Regions from separate parts of the Homo sapiens genome. Here all the other regions are linked to region 1. Evidence: promoter capture Hi-C in 16 types of primary human blood cells and fetal thymus (Javierre and others, 2016). All regions are on one chromosome and are shown on one strand. The core of a region is centred on a gene start or on the middle of the fragment in contact, and the rest is flanking DNA. Distances in the headings are between cores, read along the strand shown. Region 1 holds the start of GRID1 (glutamate ionotropic receptor delta type subunit 1). Region 2 overlaps CCSER2 (coiled-coil serine rich protein 2). Region 3 has its middle 190 kb from the start of CCSER2. Region 4 has its middle 260 kb from the start of CCSER2. Region 5 has its middle 330 kb from the start of CCSER2. Region 6 has its middle 350 kb from the start of CCSER2. Region 7 has its middle 400 kb from the start of LINC01519.

Region 1 (2,765 bases), core at 125-2,624:
CTTTCCAAAGTGAAATCTACCAATGCTTACTCTTTGGCTCTGGCCACATGAGAGACAGACAGACATACAGACACACACTTCTTTCTTTTTGCCTTGGCTCACCACTATTCAATGCCTGGAAGCCTTATTTTCTCCCTTGGGAACCTCCACTCAGTCTTTACAACTGTCATCTCCTCCAGGAAGTCATCCCTGCTCTTCTTCCCAGGCTGGTTCAGAGCCCAGGCATCTGAGCATACACAGCTCATTCATAGCCCCCCCCAACATTTAAAAGATGACTTGGTTGGGTGTCTGCCTCGCCCACTGCGCTGGGAGCTCTGGGCAAGGGCTGTGGTGGGAGCCTCTCCCCCTGGTGCGTGGCGGGAGTCCTGGGGCCCCTCCGCGGACAACAGGGCCCGGGGACGTTCCCAGGCTTGCTGGAGGAGCAGCTTTTGAACGAGGCTCTGCCAGGTCCCAGACCCCAGGAAGCTCAGCTGTCTCCTCGAAATCTTGGGGGTGCCACATGGAGCCCAGTCCCTTTCAGGCACGAGCCCACAACAGCTTAACGCTCTCTTTGGTGGTGGCCGGCCCGAGGCAGGCACCGGAGGCGGAGGGAGCCCTGTTCCGCTGTGGCCGCGAGGAGCGGGCTCTTCGCCCGGGCTCGCACATGAAAGCTCCGTGCAGGGTCGGAGTCTGAGCCCGCCGGCCGCTTGGAAGGCTCCTCACGTCCAGGCGCCGCGGTCACGGCTGCGCTGGTTTCCGGCCATGAATTGGGCTTCAGAGTCCGAGCCTCTTGCCCGACTCCCGGCTGAGCGCGCTGCCCATGGAGCGGGGGATGGGCGCCCGCCGAGGTCCGCGCGGCCAGCCAGGGTTCGAGCCCACGGCCCGGGCTCTACTCTGAGATGCTTGCGGCGGCCGGCCCCCTCTGGCTCCCCAGCTGTCCTGGGGCCTGGCCCGGCGCCCCGCCCCGGTCTCTCTTCTTGCTCCCCAGGTCCCACTCCACGAGGAACGGTCTGTTTCGGCCGGGGACATGACCCGAGACGCGCGGCTGCTGAGGTCGCCAGGGCGCTTCGGGAGCCCCTCGAGGGCAGTTAGCGGCCGGCCCTCCTCCATTCTCCCGCCCCTGGCGAACCGGAGAAGGAGGCCCGAACCGTCAGAGCTCGGCGCGCCGCAGCCCAGGCCGGTCCCCGCCGCTGTGCCGGTCTCCGAGCGTCCCCCGAGCCGGGAGCGTGGAGCACCCGGCGCCCCCTCCGAGCCGCGAGCGGGCGAGAGCCGCGCGGCGAGGCTGAGGCTCCGCAGTCACGTGGTAGAGAGGCGGGCGGAGGGGAGGGAGGCGGGCAGGGAGGGGAGGGGGAGCGGAGCTGAGGGGGAGGGGGAGGGGAGGGGGCGTCCTCCGCAGTTCGCTCCTCGCCGGGGCTCAGACACACAGCCAGCCCAGAGCCGCCACGCCGGCCCGGCCGCCGCCGCCACCGCCTCAGCCTCCCCCGAAGCCGCTCTAGCCGCGGGAAGCGCCGCTGCCACAGCCGCGGGCCGCCCCCGCCGCGCCGGCCTGGGCTCAAGCTGCCAGCACCGCCGCAGCCGCCACCGGAGCCGGAGCGGGAGCCCGACCGCGCTGGGCTGGGCTGGGCTGGGCTGGGGCGGGCGCAGGGCGCAGGGGCGGGCGCGCGGGGGAAGACGCACGGGCGGGCTCGGCTCTCCCGGGGAGCGGCCCGGGACTGCACCGGGACCAGCGCCTCCCCGCTTCGCGCTGCCCTCGGCCTCGCCCCGGGCCCGGGTGGATGAGCCGCGCGCCCGGGGGACATGGAAGCGCTGACGCTGTGGCTTCTCCCCTGGATATGCCAGTGCGTGTCGGTGCGGGCCGACTCCATCATCCACATCGGTAAGCGCGGCTGGAGGCCGGGCCGAGGCTGGGCGGGGGCCCCAACGGGGCAGGGGGTGCGCGGCGTCCAAACTTGGCGTTTCCCTGGGCCGAGGGGCTCGGCGGGCGGTGCTCCCCCGAAGGGCCGCGCCGCGCCGCCCGGCGGAGGAGCTGTGCACCGGCCGCGCCGCGCTCCCGCTGGCTGCTTGCCGCTCCCCGGGGCTCCGATCTCCGCGCGGGGCCCCGCGGCCTCTACCGACACTTAGGGCCGACGCTTCGGGGAACACCGGGATGGACGCGCGTCGAGACCCGCGCCCTTAGCGGGGCCGTCGGCGGGTCGGGAGGGCCCTTCTGCGCAGCTCAGAGCAGCGGGGGGCAGGGGGAGGTACAGCGGGGGGCTCGCCAAGTTGGCAGGGCAAGATCAAAGAGGCCGGACCGGAACCGTGTGTGAATGTGTGTGGGTGCGTGTTGTCAGCGTGTGTCGCTGTGTGCGCCTGGCACGGTGTCGGTGTTACTGTGAGAGGGTGTTGGGGTGTGTGGGGCCATCTGAGCGTGTGTTGGTGCGTGCACGACTGTCTGTCAGCCTGTTAGAGTGGACACAGTGTCTGCCTGCTTCTCCGGTGTGTGTCTGTGTAGCCCTTGGTGTATGTGTGAGTGCGTGTGTATCTGGTTGTGGCGACTGCATCCCCATCCTGGACAGTCCTAGAGTTTTGCGTGGTCCAAGTCTTGGGGGCCCAGACGGTCTGGGTGGTGGGAGCCGAGGGAAGAAGCGTGGGCAGCGGGGGGTAGGGGGATGCTGAGCGGGAAGAGATGGATAGAGAGAGAGAACCGGGAGAGAAGATGAAAGCGCAGAGGAGGAGGGGGCGCGCCGAGGGGGAGTGGGCGCGCCGAGGGGGAGTGGGTGGGAGTTGGGAGCAACACGGGAGGAATC
Region 2 (2,765 bases), core at 179-2,678, 2.0 Mb after region 1:
AATGATCTTAGATTTTTCTCTATCCTTCCCTGGAACAAACCTACCTTAACACCCAGGAACTTTAAAAATAAACAGGAATAAATTCAAAATCTGAGAAATAAAGAGGAAGAAATGAGTAGGAAAGCATGTAGCTCCTTTCAAAAGGCACAAACAAATATTGTTTCATTTTGGCGTGTCTCCATGCTAAAATTATGGCTTCTCAAAATATTTTAAGAATTCTACTACAATAAAAACAGGAGTTTCAGAGAAATGAAATAATTTTCCTGATAAGCAGAATAATCCCTGTAAATATGATAGCTTACATAGCAAAGAGGGAATTATGGTTGCCAGTCAGCTGACCTTAAAATAGAGGTATTATCCTGGATTATCTGAGGGGGCCCAATGTATAATAATCACTCAGAATGGAAGAGGGAGGCAGAAGACAGACAGAAGGAGAATGGTCAAAGAGGTGCGGTGTTGCTCGGTTTGAAGACAGAGGAAGGAAGTCATGAACCAAAGGCAGTTTTTAGAAGGTGGAAAAGACAGGGAAATGGATTCTTCCCTCGAGTCTCCAGGAAGGCACCTAGCCCTGCTGACATCTTGATTTTAGCCTGCAGAGACATGTGTCTGACTTGTAAGCTAGAGAGGATAGTAAGATAACAAACAGTGTGTTGTTTTAAGCCATTGTATTTGTGGTAATTTGTCACAGCAGCCAGAGAAAACGAATACACCCTGTTTCTCAAATGCTATAATTAGGCTTATTTGTTTCTACTGTTTTAGAGTCAATCCTATACTTACTGCATTCACTTTCTATAATTTAAATATTTGTTCCTTCCTTTCTGTGATGCCTTACAAAGGCTGAAACAGAAATAGGCCACTACAGAAGCACATTAGCACCTGAAAAAGGAGAAGAGTCAGGTGTGACTGGTGGGACTTCTAATGGTTGCAGTAATGTAATATGTTGTAGACCTCAGCAGTAAGCTCAAATCAAGTTTTGCTTGACTGGACTTTACTTAAGCCTTTTAAAATTTACTTTTTTACTTCAGCCTTCACAGGCTTCAGATGAGTAATTTCAGCTATACTGATTATAACAGTCGGTGGCAGACTTCAGTTAACATATATATTTAATAAATCAAAATGCCAAGTGCATTAGTGGTATGTGTAGTCTTTTTGTTAGATGAGAGAAAATGAATGTATTGAGTGACCTCAATTCCTTTAGCAGTCAGAATTTCCTTATTTTAGGTTCAATTTTCTGTCCTCAAACCAGTCAAGTTACAGTGCATCCATCAGTGCCCATTTAACCTGAGGACAGCCCCATCACATTTTTGTATATTACATCAAATGAAGTTTCAGTAACATTTTTTAAAAGCTTTTCTTTTTGTTCTGTTTTACTGCAGAATTTCATATCTTAAGGACATTATACTTTGGGGGAGGTGGTAATAAAAATATCATAGGATGATTTTATGAGTAGATTATGGTAATACCAGAGATTTATTAATCAATGCACTTAAGATTTACCAGTAAGCTTTAGGTAAGAGTAGAAAGTCACTGGAATGTTCTAGGAAAATAGAATACCATGCATAGCAACTTTCATATAGTAATACTGACTAGCACTTTTATATGCAGAAGTTTCTACACAACTGAATAGGAGCTGGTATGGACACAAGTAAGGTGGTAGATGTGTTTTTTTATCTAAATTACAAAAATAATACTGCTCTATACTAGCATAGTCATTACGGCAGTTTATAACTGTAAAATATTGGAAACAATCTTGATGCCCATTGTTGGGAGAGTAATTGAATAAACAATGCACAATCTACAAAATAAGTAGTATACAGCGGTACAAAAAGAATAAGGATGATCTCGGCCAGGTGTGGTGGCTCACGCCTGTAATCCCGACACTTTGGAAGGCCAAGACGGGTCGATCACTTAAGCCCAGGAGTTCAAGACCAGCCTTGGCAACATGGTGAAACCCCATCTCTACCAAAAATACAAAAATTAGCCAGTCTCATAACCCAGTCTCAAAATAAACAAACAAATACATACATAGGTTAAAATTTAAAAATAAAATATTTTTTTAAAAAGAAGAAAAGGGAAGATCTCTATGAAGTAACATGAAATAAATGAGTACTTTAAATAAACCACGATGTGGGCAGAACCCAAAACGAAATACAAACAGCAACAAATGAACCTAAAAGTATTACAAATGAATAATACAATCACGCTGAAAGGATTGAGAACTAAAACAACTAACGTAAGTAAACTTGGAAAACAGTACTTATTGTATTCTGTAAGGTTAAGGTTTAAAAAAAAAATGCTAAACAAATATTGTAAGTTAGTAAATCTTTTTCATAGGGTGTAAGTTAGCAATTCTGAAACTGTGTGTATATAATATAGTATAAATATAGTATAGTTATGGTATATAATATACTATATATACTATATCTATAACTATGTATGAATATATACTATAATCCTTATACACACACACACACACACACACACACACACACACAGTGTTGAATAACTAAGAAAATATATTGTGGTTGAGAAACCAAGTTTCTCACTTTCTGAGAAAAGGCTTAAAAATAAGAAGAAAGGCTAGAACAAATTCTGTGGCATTTGATTGGAGTCAAAGGTATCCGTGTGAGCTCTTGGTCTTTAATATATACGGAAATGGATACAGAAATAAATATAGAAGAGAAGTGTGTGTGTATACATATAATTGTCAGTTCTGTCTGCCACAATAACTAAAAGTAATTACACCTCAGTAGCAACGAACACAC
Region 3 (2,765 bases), core at 173-2,672, 1.8 Mb after region 1:
TGTGACTTCAGTAATGCTTCTTGTAATATTCACAAATAGTTCTAAGTCCATGGTCTCCTTTGCTTCCCCCTTGAATTCTTTACGAGCTCTGAAAGGCAGGAAAGCACTGTGTGCTCTGCTTTCCTTCCCTTAGTTGAAATTTTTCTTAGAATGAGAGTAGTCAGACCAAGGACCAGGGTTCTGAGTGCCCAGGTCTGGCCCAAACCCTTTCCCAAACACCTCCTGTGAGCTCTGACTAGTCCTGAATCTTTGAACCTGGTGGAGGCGGCCCCTGGCAGCAGGGAGTTTAGAGCATCTGTGTTTGCATCTCAGCAAAACTCTGGAACACAATTTAAGAAACCATTTGCATTAACAATCCATCACAACTCCTATTACTTTTGTTTTTCATTGCAATTCACATTTGCACTTGACCTACTATAAATGCAAAACCTCAGCTAAAACTTGTGAAAATTTTTTAAATTCCTGATAATTCAGAAGTATTTTGAACTGATACGTGCTTAAAAAGGCCTCAGGTTCGTGGAATGTATCGTTACCACTACAGGTTATGTGATAGTGGCCTAGTTTTTATTTAGCTGTAATTAAAAAGAAATCCTAACACACATGCACATTTGTCAAGGATGAATGGTTTTGGAAGCGAGTTCACCTGTGGTCCCAAACGTCCCCTTCCTGCCCACTGGCTCTCTTACAGTGCTTTGTTTGGGATCCTTCTTGTCATGTTGCAATTTGATCTCTTCAATCGCAGGGTCTCCGTCTCATCCACCTCCTGCCACGAGACAGAAACGAGGGCTGTGCACAAAACAAGCATTTCAACCATGTTTCTTGTGGGGAATAGTTACCTTTCACTTTAGTAGACTGATATTTCAGGTATACTTTTGCTGCAGAAAGCATTTGTTCTGTAATCACTTAAAGTATTACCAAAGGATTATTCATACTCAAAATGGGTGTCTGAATGAATTCATGTGAGGATTAAGGAGTGGGTTGTTTTGAGATCTGGAAAGTAGCAATACCATTTTTCAGGTTGAGAAACCAGAGAAGTGCCTGTGAGGAACTGTTTCTTCCTCTCTGATTTTTGCACAGAAAAGATGCTAATTTGAGGGCTGTGTGCATGGGTGGGTGGGAGAATTCATCAGTGAGGAAAAGGCTTCTCTGGATGACCTAAATTCCTCCTTAGAGACTCCATGGCAAGAAATGGTAGGAAACCAGCAACAACATGAATGAAACTGGAGGTCATTATGTGAAATAAGCCACATACAGGAAGACAAATGTTGCACATTCTCACTCATGTGGAAGATAAAAAAGAAATGATCTAACAGAGGTAGAGAGTAGAATAGTGGTTACCAAAGGCTGGAAAGGGTGGTGGGGAGGTGGGATAAAGAGGGGATGGTTAATGGGTACAAAAATACAGTTAGAATGAATAGGACCTAGTGTTCAGTAGCACAGTACAGTGACCATAGTTAACAATAATTTATTGTATATTTCAAAATAACCAGAAGAGTAGTATTGAAATATTCCTAGCACAAAGAAATAAATGAGGCAATGGATATCCCAATTACACAGATTATAGTGTATGCTTGTATCGAAATAACAGGTATTTAATAAATATGTATAATTATTATATATCCATAAAAATTAAAAATTAAAATAGAAACTGAAAACATCAAGTAGACCATATTATATTTGATCTATCCAAGAGAATGGGATGGAAGGAAAAGCCCGGACATGAATTTGAATGTTAAAGGTAGACTTCAGAAAGCAACATCTTATGGGTTGAGGTTCTAAAAGGGACAGTGGCCTTAGGATAGTCGAGAAGTCTTAAAATCAAATTCCAAGAACCTAAAGTAGAAAGCAGAGTATTTAATAGTGGCTAAAGAGGAAGTTCGTTCTTGGATAAAATAATAAAAGGCCAGGTTTTCTAGGGAAATGAAGGCATGCAACCAAACAAGAATAAACATAATATAGAATCCAAGAGGAGAATAGTGCAAGGGAGTTAAAGCCCAGAATGAAATGAAACTGAAGAGGAAACGTCAAAAGAGACTGGTAGGTTCAAAGGAAGATAATAAACAGGGAATGCAAGGGAAGGGCTCAGTGCTGCAATGGATCGGATGATGTTAAAAATCCCCTAGGGTTCCTAAGCTCCATAAGGCAGAACCTGTATCATCGTTACCTTTGTACACCCTGCAGCCAGCACAGCAAGTGACACAGGTAAGACATCCCATCAAACTTACTTAAACCAAGTTAACAGAGGAAGAAGTCAATTCTTTAACTCATGCTTGTCTTTTCTGTAGGGATAAAATATTTTCACAATGGAAAACGCGCAATCAACAGCATAAATGAAGAAACTGAAATGACTACACTTAATGACAAAATTAAAAGGGAAAATTTTTAGTATAAGAAAGTACTTGCTAATGATAGATGCAGAAGGCCAATAAGGGGGAGGGTCCTCAGAGAATCTCCAACCAGCTTGTGCACTGGGAGAACTGGGTGGAGCCACGGGAAGTTCCAGCCTTGGGCAGGAGGGAAGAGCCTGAGCTCTTCAGCTCACATGTGTGGTGGCCTGGAACTTATCTGTGAGGTGGGGGCCTGTTAGCAGGATTCCCCCCTTGCTTTGCTGAGTTTTTTTTTCCTTTTTGCCCAATGAATTCCATTCCCCACACACTTCAATGTGTCCATGTGTCTACATTTTCCTGGTCCTGACACAAGAACCCCGATTTAGCCGACCTAAGGAGCAAAATTCTGCAACACTAAGAACTCAGATGGCCTTAAAG
Region 4 (2,765 bases), core at 196-2,695, 1.8 Mb after region 1:
GCATGGTGTTGGGCGCCTGTAGTCCCAGCTACTCCGAAGGCTGAGGCAGGAGAATGGCGTGAACCCGGGAGGTGGAGCTTGCAGAGAGCGGAGATCGCGCCACTGCACGGCAGCCTGGGCGACAGAGCAAGACTCTGTCTCAAAAAAATAAAAATAAAATAATAGACCCACACGCAGGGTAGGTCACCAAGTCCGTGACATGAAGCCCACTCCGGGAACTTGGGGCCACTTTTTAATTCTCACCCTGCGCTCCCCACACACCTGTGCCTCGCCAGTGTGACCCACGCTTTGGTCTTCCTCTCTGTGCCATCTGCAGACTCCAACTGACATTTTTTTCTGGCCCAACCTATTTGTGTCTGATAATCTTATACATGGGTCTCAGGCATGAGCAAAAAGGTTTAAACAGGAAAATTCAAAGGATTCATGGAATCAGCTTCTAAAGATCGAAAGCTACTGGCATGCGCTAGGGTATGCATGGCACAACCTGGGTCCTCACCATTTTCGAATTGGGATTTGGGGTCAAGCCAGCTCCCTCTTCCATCAGCAGAAGCCCTTCCCCTGTCCTAGGGCTTATTTGCATGGATGGCACATGGGTTTCTAGGCAAGAGCGAAAAATAGAAATGAACAAATGAAGGCTAGCTTGATTCTAGCTTACCCTGCAGGGAAAAAGTGACTGCAAGTAAAAGCCGAGAGTTGCTTTCATGAGTACGCTGTGAGGCTCCAGACACAGGCGGGGCTCCCGGGGCCTGGATGAAAAAGTGGCACAGAAGGGGGGGGGCCCCACTTCTCCCTGGCACACGGCCCACTTGAATTCAAGAAGACAGAAGCATATGCAATAATGTGGAGCCCCTTGGGGAGCAATGCTATTTGGAGAGCTCTGGGAAGCAGCAGCCAGAGTGAGAATTGGGGCTTTATAAAAGGGCAGGGAGGCGAGGGAGTGGAGGGGCCTCTCTCAAGCAACAGCCAGAAGGAATTCAACTTGGAGACCAGAATAGGACAAAAGGACTGGGCCGATTGAGAGCCCACCTGACTTTCCTAGGAACTCCAAGATCTCTAAGCATACATGGAAGGCTGAGATCCTGCCTCCACTGTGGGAGTAAACAGCCACCAGCATTCAGACTATACATATTGAAGCTATTTTATTGTTAAGTGCATGCTAATGGTCCTGGGGACCATAGGGATCACACACAAATGTGGGGTGAGCACCTCACATTTCAGAGGGAAGAGGCTCCACGTTAGGCACTGAGCTGTGGTCCCAAGGACCAAGCCTCTTGCAGGAGGGACAGGCCTTTATTTGACAAAGAGATAGGCTATAACCACATACAATGGCCCATGATCTAACGCCAAATGAATAGCACAGATGACAAGAAGTTTGAAATTCAGAAAAGGTCAAGGTCAGTGTGTTGAGTGCTCCAGGGAGGATCTCAGAAAACATTCATTTGTTCTTCCCCTACTTTTTGTTGCCCTCATGATATTGATTAATTAAGATTTAATAGAAGTGATCTTAGTTTCCTATTGCTACTACAACAAATTACCACAGTTAGCAGCTTGAAACAACACACATTTATTATCTTACAGTTCTTTAGGCTAGAAGTCCAACATGGGTCACTGAGCTAAAGTTGGAGTGCTGGCAGGGCTGAGCCGCTTTCCTGGAGGCTCTGGGGAAAATCAGTTTTCCTGCCTTTTCCAGATTCAGGAGGATCCCACAGCCCTTGACTTGTGATTTCTTCTCCATCTTCAGCCATCAACATGGCACCTCTCTGACCCTTATTCCATTTTCACATCTCTCTGATCACAGGCAAGAGAGGTTCTCAGCTTTTAGAGACTCGGGGTTAGATTGGGCCCACACAGTAATTCAGGATAATCTCTCCTACCACATTTTTAAATCTTCATCACAAAGTCCTTTTTGCCATGTAAGGTAACACTTACCAATTCCAGGAATTGGCATGGGGATCTTTGGTGGGGGAAGCATTATTCCGCTTATCACAGAGCAGATATTTTCCAAGGTAAAGTAAAAAAGATAAAAGTCTCTACCACAAAAGCATGTCCATTTCTCCTCATGCAGCCTACATTCACGGTATATTCCTAACAGTCACATCACACAGGAGCTCACATTAAGTTAACGGTCAACTAAAATTGCAAGATTGTTTTTTATGTTTAGGGCTAAGTCTTAAATAAACAATACCTATTTCAATATTTTTTTCTTGAAAGAAACTCCATTTTCAAGAAGTAAAGTGTTCAAATTATGATTGATTGATTGAGTGTAGCTGATATTAATCAGCCTTCTGGGTTAGCACTCACAGTCAAGAGAATCACGTTTTCATCTTAAATAAACAAACACATATTTACCTGTGGCTCTCAGAAGTGAGTTTTCATGAAAGACAATTTAGTTTTATTTAAGAAAGTTTGCCAGGCTCTTCTCATGGCTTATAATAAATGTAAATAAAGCCATGCTGCTTCCAGTGTTTAACAAATTCACTATCTATGGAGCACCTCCCAAGAGTGGACCAGGCACTGCTCTGAGCTATGAGAACACAGAGAGTAGTCAGAGCTGCCTTTAAGAACTCAGAGGCCAGGCTGGGTGTGGTGGCTCACGCCTGTAATCCCAGGATATTCGGACGCCAAGACAGGATGATTGCTTGAGGCCAGGAGTTCAAGACCAGCCTGGGCAACATAGTGAGACAACCATCCCTAAAAAAAATACAAAAATTAGCCTGGCATGCTGGTGTGCACCTGTAGTCCCAGCTACTTGGGAGGCTGAAGTG
Region 5 (2,765 bases), core at 138-2,637, 1.7 Mb after region 1:
ATTCATATTCCCTAATTTCCAATCCATATCTTTCTAATATTTCTCAAGCCTGCTTACACAGGCCCTGAACATGGCCAGCATAAAGCTTTGTCTCCTGTTTCATTAAGACAGAGAAGCATCATTTCCCTCGACTTCTAGCTCCTGTCACCTATAAACTGATGTAGGTCCACACCCAGAACTGGCCCCTTCCCTCCGTTCCCCTTTTTATCCAAGGCTAAAGGTTCTCTCTGTCCACCCTCTGCATCTTCTAAGTCCTCCCGCCATCAATTTCCCTTCCTCTACCCTCAGCCGCCCACTCCACCAAGCTTCTGTACTCATTCTATAAATAGGTATGTTATTTTCCTCCTCCCCCACCCCAAGAATAAAACCCTGGTGTTGTGTTCCCTCTAGTAAGATTCTTCTTCTCTTTTCACTAGAACTTCTACAAAGTGTGGCCTAACTCAGTCTGCACAGCATCTCATTCAACTCTCAACTTCCTGCAACCAGACTTCCATTCCCACTCCAGCGAGCCCAGTCCTTCCCTGTCTTTAACTCCCCTCTGTACCTGGCACTAACAACCATTATTTTTTATTCCAGCACTTCCATTCCCCATTCTGGCCCTTGCTACAATAGCCCACCCTCCAATCCTTCATGGTTCCCCTCTGACTAGCCCCTCATGACTAGCCCTGCTAGTCATGAAACCCTCTTACTCTTACTCTTGCATGGAACCCTCTTACTCTTACTGTTTAACCCTAAACTTAAAGTTTAGGGTTCCAAGAGTTTTGCTTCTGACTCACTGTTCTTCTTACATGCTAGACCCTCTCTGGGAGACTTTATCTTCATACATGGCTGCATATTTCAAAATCTCTAGCTCCAGTTTTGACTTCTCTCCTAAACATCAGATCTTACTCATTCTTTGAAATTTTCCTCTGGATGTCCCTAAAATCCTTAAATGTGTGTTCAGCCTTCATCATCTCCACAGGTCTCCATTTGTGAAACTAAATAGTCCTTACCCCAGCCAATGACAACACCTTCCACATTGCCCATAAGTCATGAAAGTAAGCTGCTCCTTCTCTCCTAACAACCATCCTATCATGCCACCTTCTAACTTTTACCTCTTAAATATTTTCCAGTCCATCTCGGCCTCCCCTGCCTGAGGATTGCTGCCATCTCCTCATTGGTGTCCATTTCTGATTTTGTTCTTTTGAATGCCCCCTACACATAGTTCCAGAAGGAGCTACCAAACACAAATCTGATTCATTTATCACCCTGCTTAAAACTTGTGGGTAGATTTCCATTTTTAAGCACTTTATGACAGCCTCAAAGGACCCGTGTCATCTGGATTTCAGGAAACTCTCAGATCTTCCACTTCCCACTCCCCACCTTGCACATTATGCCCCACCTAGACCAAAGGTATGCAGTTCCCCATGCACTGTGCATTGTACTGACATCTATGCATCCTCTGAGCCCTAGCAGATGCAGTACGTCTCCTTTTCTGTTCCCTTAGCAACCCTCACATACTGACATCTGAGCTTTCACCACACATTGCATTTGGGCAATTCTTTGATTTCTGGCTCTCCCACAAGCATGTGAGCTCCTCGATAGCAGAGCCATGTCTTAGCCTTCTCTGTATGTGCCCGGCACCTTCCCAGCTCCTGGCCTGTGCTGGGTCTTGAATAAATGATGGCTGGACTGAACTGAACTGACTGTCTAAGTTGGTCACTCTGCCACTCATTCTCAGAACTCTCCATATCTGGCCTACATCAAACCTTCCTACAACTGCCTCTTCAAAGGCAGGATCATTCCTTCCAGATGAAAGTCCTCGATTCCACTGTCGCAAGCTCTTTTCCTAACTCTCATTACATGAGTTTCCACTTCACTCATATGTTCCCAGAAGTGGAAGTTATTTTCTGGTTTTAAATAAAATAAAAGTAATCTGACACCCCCAAAGTCATTCAAAATGACCTTTGTGTAGTGGAAAGGACACTCATTGGGGCGTCAGGAGGTGTGAGCTGCAGCTGCTGCTCTGCAGCTGCTATTCATTCTGCTGGAGAGCAATGTACTGTCTGGCTCCGGCTACCTTCTCCTCCTTTACACAATGCCCAGGTAGGGAAAGCTGAGGCTGGAGTCCTGATGTTTTATGCATCAAAGGCTTTTCTTTATTTAGGGTTTATCTGACATCTTTACAAACGTGATAGTGAGATGGTTTGGTTGTTAGAGTGGCCAGAAAGAGACCCAGAAGCTGGTAAGTGGAGGGGTGGGGACAGGAAGAGGAAGAAAAATCCAGCTCTGAGCAACTCATCTAAAGATGAACCCAGGACAAGGCGGCCCTGAAGGAAAATATTGGCCTGAGATTCAGGCTCTGACCTGCTTGCCTTGGTGCTCTTAACTTGGGTTCTTCACAGCCCAGACTTATCTTCCTGGAACTTGCTCACACCTCACTTCCTCTCAACCAGTTCTTTTCAAATAAACCCTTTCCTATAAAGCTTTCACTTTAGTCTGCTCTGTTACAGATAGCCCTAAAGCCAGAAGAGCCACAGCAATGAAAAGTTCTGCCCTGCCCCGAATCCTACACAGTGCCTCATCTCTTCTCCAGGAGCCTGGGCACTTTCAGCCCTCCCCACGCGGGCTGCCCTATGCTCTCCCTGACTCAGTAAATCTCAGAGAAAGATGAGGGCCTGCCTGGTGCTGCACTCCCTACCTCGTCAGAGGAGCCTCAGAAAGAAGTGGAGCTTGCTTGTGTTAAAAACAGCCAGCGACCGGTCGATGCTTCATAGCAGGACAGG
Region 6 (2,765 bases), core at 108-2,607, 1.7 Mb after region 1:
ATCCATGTATGTATGTGTAAGTATATATGTACATGTATGTGCATGCATGTGTCTAAGTGTATGTGTAGATGTTGTGTGTGTATGTGTCTAAGTATATATGTATATGTTGTGTGTGTGTGTATATTTCCATAGTAAAGAATGAAATGAAGTCTTGAATGTAGGGCAAAAGGGTTTAGATTGAAAGCTGATAAAATAAGGAAATCACTAGAGCATAGCTGCGCTTTTCAAATAGTTGGTATGGAAAATTATCCAAGTTGAGGTTTGAATCAGGGAGACTAAGGATTATGAGGCAGCTGTAGGGTTGTAGTTGGTGTTGATGAGACATGATGGATTTGGATGAGAAATATTTAGAGAAGAGATTTAGAGTGATCCAGTGACTGTATATAGAGTCTCAGAAAAAAAAAAAATAACAATGACCAACCTTAACCAAAAGTGGTTATGTAGTGCCTGATGATGCTGGAAGACAGTAGATAGATGATTGATAGATAGATAGATAGATAGATAGATAGATAGATAATTGAGATAGATAATAGATAGCTGATTGATATAGATAGAAGATAGATAGATATTCATTTAAACCTTATTCATATTCCTAGACAGAAGATACTGTTTTTGACCCATCTCACAAATGAGGAAGCTGAGGCACAGATTTAGCAGCTTATTCAAGGTCACAGCTAAGGAATGAAATTAGAAGGTTGTACCCAAACAGCCTCCGGCTTGAGCCAAGCATTTTCATGTTAGGGAGTTGGTCTTTGAAGGTTGGAGAAAAGACAGGGACACAGCTCTCACAGGATCCCTCTGGAAAATGTCCTATCTCTGTGATTTTCGTTTACTCACTTATTCATTCAGGTATTTCTTCTTTACAGCCTAAACATTCGCAAAAACAATTCCCCGCTGGCTGCCGCTGTCTTTCTAGAGTGTATGCGGCGCTGACTTCACAGTGAATTGTCAAGTATGATTCTTTTTAAGGTGCCGACCACCTGATCAAGCACCAACAATCCACAGGCACCTCAAAGTCTTTTGTGGGGCCCAAACCAGTTTCTCCCTTGGCCTCCAGCCACTCTTTCCCTGAACAGGCATTCCGTGTTTTGGGCCTCGAGTCCTCTTTTGCACCCTGTGGATGGTGGATGCTTTCCCCTGAGCTCTGACACATCTCTCAAGGAAGCTGAGTTGTTTCTCTCCCAAGGCCACCGAAGGATTTCTTACCAGTATCAGGGTGACTTGAAGCCTCCACCCCTAACCTGGGCTGGTTGGTCTAACCTAGACTGCCTTAGAGCTATAACAGAAACTGCACCCTACCTCCCAGTCCCATTCCCCACCCCCAATCTACACTACCCATTCTCTACTCCAGCTAAAATTGCTGAACTGAGTCCAGTCAACTTGCATTTATGAGCAAAATAAATCATGGCTATTGTTTCCAGCCATTGGGGAAGTTCATTTTATAGCAATAGATGTAATTAGAACACGTCATCATCAAACATAATCATTCAATTAATATAATTATATGTGATAATATTCATATTTGACCCCCCCAACAGGCATTTGATAGAACTAAACATTTATTCCTTATTAAGGACTCTATGTAAGTGATGAAAAAGAGTCCCTCATTATGGTCATGAATCTCTGTCCAAAACTATGAATTAATATTAATATCCTACACACTGTGGACCACTGTAGACATTCATTCCCATTGAAATCTGAAGAAAAAAGACATCAAAATTACATTAGAGCATCCTGGAAGTCTGAGCCAATACACTAAAATATGAAAAATAAATTAGAGGTATAATATCATCAACATGATCAAATTAACAATATTCACAGATTATATGGTTGTCTACCTCAAAAACTTAAAATTGAAATTCCATGGGAAAAGGACTAAAGTGTCACAATTTGCAAAATTAAAAAAAATTTTAAGGTGTACCTTTGGGCTTACAAAAATTAGCACATGGTCTACCATTAAGTCACACGCATCTAAGGACTATTCCCTTAAACACCAAATAAACTAGACAAAGATTCGGAATTACTGCTTAAAAGAATGAGCTCAGTGTGCTTGGTAGTGTAGCAGAATGCCTAACTGCTTAGGCTCTGAAGCTAGACAACCTGGATTCAGATTCCAGCTCCCCCACTCACTGCCCCTAATGGCCTTAGGCATATTATTTAAACTCTTACGCCTCAGCTTTCTCTACAGAAACATGAAAATGTTAACAATGATACCTAGTGCATGTGGCTGTGATAACAATTAAATAATTGTTATAGGGAAAGTGCTCAGAACATTGAGTAGAACATAATAAACATCATTATTTGTCAGGTTTCTTCAGAGAAGCAGAACCAATAGAAGATAGATAGTGTTAAATAAAATTTGTGGGAGGCCATTGTACTCTTCACCCCACTTCCATTTTCTGTCCGTAAATGCTGCCTGACCATGCAGCACACAGGAGTTTTTAAAGCCTAAATTCTCATTCTGAAGGCTGCTCGATTCATGAATCATTGCTGTTGGAGGGTTTTTTTTTTTTTTTTTTGCTTAAAAAACTGATAAATTTAAACTTGCTTAAGGTTTTCCCTTTTTAACAATAGATAGAGAGATACATAGATAATAAGGAATTGGCTGGCACAACTTTGGAGGCTGAGAAGTTCCATGATCTGCCATCAGCAACTGGAGACCCAGAAAAGGCAGTGATGTAATTCAGAATGAGTCCAAAGGCCCTGCACTCCAGGGAAGCCAATCGTGTAAATCCTAGTCCAAGAGCAGAAAATGAGATGCTGTG
Region 7 (2,765 bases), core at 194-2,693, 1.6 Mb after region 1:
AAGTGAAACTCTGTCTCAAAAAAAAAAAAAAAAAGAAAGAAAGAAAGAAAGAAAAAAAGAGAGAGAGAGAGAATATTCAACCCTCAAATCCAGAAGCCTTTTACTTATGTACGTATGTAAGTGCACACACACACATTTGCACTCATGAACACATGCAGGCGCCCACTTAAATGTATACACAGAACATACAAACAGAAGTCTATATCACTTCGTCTATACACACAAGTTGGTAAATACATTCTCTCCAGACTGACCAATGGGAACATGGAAGACACAAGTTCTTCATCTCTCCAAGTATTCATGTTAAGCAGTTCCAGTTAATTTCCACAATATCAGAAATACAAGTTAAGAGTGGACAAAGCAGCCCCTCTATCTACACAGTCCTGGACTCTTGGCTGGCTGAGTTGGCAACTGGCACAGGGGCTCCAAGGAGCCCGTGAACATCTGCCTGCTTGAAGGCCAAGGCTAGATCAATAGCCAATCAAAGACTTTTTCCACGACTCTGTGTTTGTCATTCTCCGATATCCTGTAACCCAATTCCTGTCCTTAGGGAGAGTATGCTTAAATTCTGAGTGTGGATGCTGAGTTAAGGTGAGGGTACTGAGGTTGAACAAAAGAATAGCATTTCAGAGATACCATCTCACACCAGTCAGAAAGCTATTATTAAAAACAACAGATGCTGGTGAAGCTGCAGAGAAAAAGGAATGCTTAAATACTGTTGGTGGAGATGTAAACTAGCTCAGCCACTGTGAAAAGCAGTTTGGAGATTTTTGAAAGAACTTAAAACAGAGCTAACATTTGACTCAGCAATCCCATTACTGGGTATATGCCAAAAAGAAAATAAATCATTCTACCAAAAAGACACATGCACACACATGTTCAGCACAGCACTATTCACAATAGCAAGCATATTGAATCAACCTACGTGCCCGTCAATGGTGGACTGGATAAAGAAAATGTGGTACATATACATCATGGAATACTCTGCAGCCATAAAAAAGAACAAAATAATGTCCTTTGCAGCAACATGGATGTAGCTGGAGGCCATTATTCTAAGCAAATTAACACAAGAACAGAAAACCAAATACTGCATGTTCTTACTTAGCAGGACCTAAGTATTGGGTACTATGAACATAAAGATGGCAGCAGTTGACACTGGGGGCTACAAGAGGGGGAGGGAGGAGGCAAGGATGGAAAAACTACTAGGTTCTAAGCTCACTACTTGGGTGACAGGATCAATCATTCAAACCTCAGCATTACACAATATACCCATGTAACAAACCTGCACACGTACCCCTGAATCTCAAATAAAAGTTGAAATTATCAGAAATTAAAAATTGAAAAAAAAAATAGCATTTCAACCTTAGGCACCTTGAGCCCTTTAGCCCTGGCATGAAGTGAAAACTTCGTAGATGTTTTTGACTAACTGACTGATTGGCTAACCAACAAGGAAAACTGGAAGATCCAGTGACAATTGCACTTCTGTGAATGGAGACGTTTTATATACATTAAGCCTGTTACTGATCAGAAGAAAACTTTTGCAACCGATTTATCCTTAAAAACATCATTTTCTGTAAGGATGGGGAAGAAGCCCCAGCTCAGCAGCCTGGTTGGCTCTTCCATGTCCCAAATGACATAGGCATCCTTCAGCTAGATTCCCCCTAGTAAATAAGTTCCACCAGCCCACGCAGGCACCACTCCCAAGAAGCAGGCTGCAAACATGAGTCTCTTCCACAGGTAAGGCTCTAATCTGCGCACCGTGTACTGCTCCTGTCTCCCTCATCCTCAGACTGCTGACTCCCTCTCTGCCACATCATTGCCAGCTCTTTACATTTGGCTACCCTTCCCATTTCCTTTAGGCTTTGGGGATTTGGCTTTCTATTCAGATCGGACTATGGTTTGATATAATTTACAGCATCTGTTGAGAAACTTCTAATTCAGCCCTGACCCCTCAAAATCTCACTGAAAAAGGCTCTTTTTCTATTCCCGACCAGAATCTTGGTCCTCTGAATATGTTAGGGGCTGAGTCCACACCCCTTCCTCCCCGCTACACACACACAAACATTGAGAAAGGGCAGGAGGCAGGAGTCTTCCCAACATCCCACTTGCAAAGGGAACACATGCTCATCCATTCTCCAGCAGTCGTTCTTCATTGTGATGCCTCCAATCTAAATGTCAGTACAATTTGCCCTTATAAAAATACGGCTCCCTCCCCTTCTCCACCAGGGACTGCATCTGTAACCACGGTAACAAAATCCAGGTGCAGCAGCACAACCACCATTTCTATGAGGATGGAGAGCACCGAGAGGGGAAAGGGAAAAAACAGTGCTGCAGTTTTCACATGCAGCCTGGGGTCTGTCCAGGGACCACATCTAGTTCTGCCCAGAAAAGGCTGCACTCACATCTATTTTACAAGGCAAAATGAGCCCTTACCAGCAGTAACACTCTTCTACCTATTCTTGTACCTAATGTCAAAGCCTCTGCTCCATACAGTCAGTTTAGCTAAAAGAAATGGTCACTTTCAGGAGCAAAATTGTTAAAGCTATAGGTTGAAATGCCTGAAGCCAAGGCAATCGCTGTGTTTTGTTTTTTGTGTTTTTTCAGCTTTCTTTTCCAACTGAGTGAGTTACTACTCTTTCTCTCTGAGGCACACACACACATACGAAAGCAGAAGGGAAGGAAAAGAGGGAGAAAATACTAAGAAGCTCTCATCCTTTGAACATCAGACACAGTGCTAGTACTTTACAAATAATATATTTAATAAT

The links. The method cuts DNA at HindIII sites, captures the fragments that hold promoters and counts their contacts. A CHiCAGO score of 5 or more calls a contact.
Region 2: a fragment that was not itself captured here is called in contact with the fragment with the promoter of GRID1 in region 1 in 3 of 17 cell types (naive B cells, total B cells and total CD4 T cells); the score reaches 10.0 in naive B cells.
Region 3: a fragment that was not itself captured here is called in contact with the fragment with the promoter of GRID1 in region 1 in 5 of 17 cell types (total B cells, naive CD8 T cells, non-activated CD4 T cells and 2 more); the score reaches 7.6 in total B cells.
Region 4: a fragment that was not itself captured here is called in contact with the fragment with the promoter of GRID1 in region 1 in 5 of 17 cell types (endothelial precursors, non-activated CD4 T cells, total B cells and 2 more); the score reaches 9.9 in endothelial precursors.
Region 5: a contact is called between a fragment that was not itself captured here and the fragment with the promoter of GRID1 in region 1, in 2 of 17 cell types (endothelial precursors and total CD4 T cells). The highest score is 7.8, in endothelial precursors.
Region 6: a fragment that was not itself captured here is called in contact with the fragment with the promoter of GRID1 in region 1 in 1 of 17 cell types (endothelial precursors); the score reaches 5.6 in endothelial precursors.
Region 7: a contact is called between a fragment that was not itself captured here and the fragment with the promoter of GRID1 in region 1, in 1 of 17 cell types (endothelial precursors). The highest score is 6.5, in endothelial precursors.

What each region holds. Positions count from the first base shown.
Region 1 is chr10:86,365,404-86,368,168 of GRCh38, reverse strand. It overlaps GRID1 (glutamate ionotropic receptor delta type subunit 1), which reads left to right and starts at 1,374. Exons shown (of 16, transcript NM_017551.3): 1 at 1,374-1,855. The coding sequence starts at 1,777. RefSeq lists silencers at 676-885, 996-1,385, 1,406-1,455, 1,686-1,885, 1,916-2,065. The HindIII fragment of the contact is 11,562 bases long and covers 1-2,765 here.
Region 2 is chr10:84,395,916-84,398,680 of GRCh38, reverse strand. All of the region lies in intron 3 of CCSER2 (coiled-coil serine rich protein 2), which reads right to left. Among named protein-coding and RNA genes, the nearest start is that of CCSER2, 69 kb to the right of the region's middle. The HindIII fragment of the contact is 156 bases long and covers 1,351-1,506 here.
Region 3 is chr10:84,519,157-84,521,921 of GRCh38, reverse strand. No RefSeq gene overlaps it. Among named protein-coding and RNA genes, the nearest start is that of CCSER2, 190 kb to the right of the region's middle. The HindIII fragment of the contact is 4,470 bases long and covers 1-2,765 here.
Region 4 is chr10:84,591,741-84,594,505 of GRCh38, reverse strand. No RefSeq gene overlaps it. Among named protein-coding and RNA genes, the nearest start is that of CCSER2, 260 kb to the right of the region's middle. The HindIII fragment of the contact is 4,549 bases long and covers 1-2,765 here.
Region 5 is chr10:84,660,621-84,663,385 of GRCh38, reverse strand. No RefSeq gene overlaps it. Among named protein-coding and RNA genes, the nearest start is that of CCSER2, 330 kb to the right of the region's middle. The HindIII fragment of the contact is 2,160 bases long and covers 308-2,467 here.
Region 6 is chr10:84,678,574-84,681,338 of GRCh38, reverse strand. No RefSeq gene overlaps it. Among named protein-coding and RNA genes, the nearest start is that of CCSER2, 350 kb to the right of the region's middle. The HindIII fragment of the contact is 5,451 bases long and covers 1-2,765 here.
Region 7 is chr10:84,797,974-84,800,738 of GRCh38, reverse strand. No RefSeq gene overlaps it. Among named protein-coding and RNA genes, the nearest start is that of LINC01519, 400 kb to the left of the region's middle. The HindIII fragment of the contact is 8,386 bases long and covers 1-2,765 here.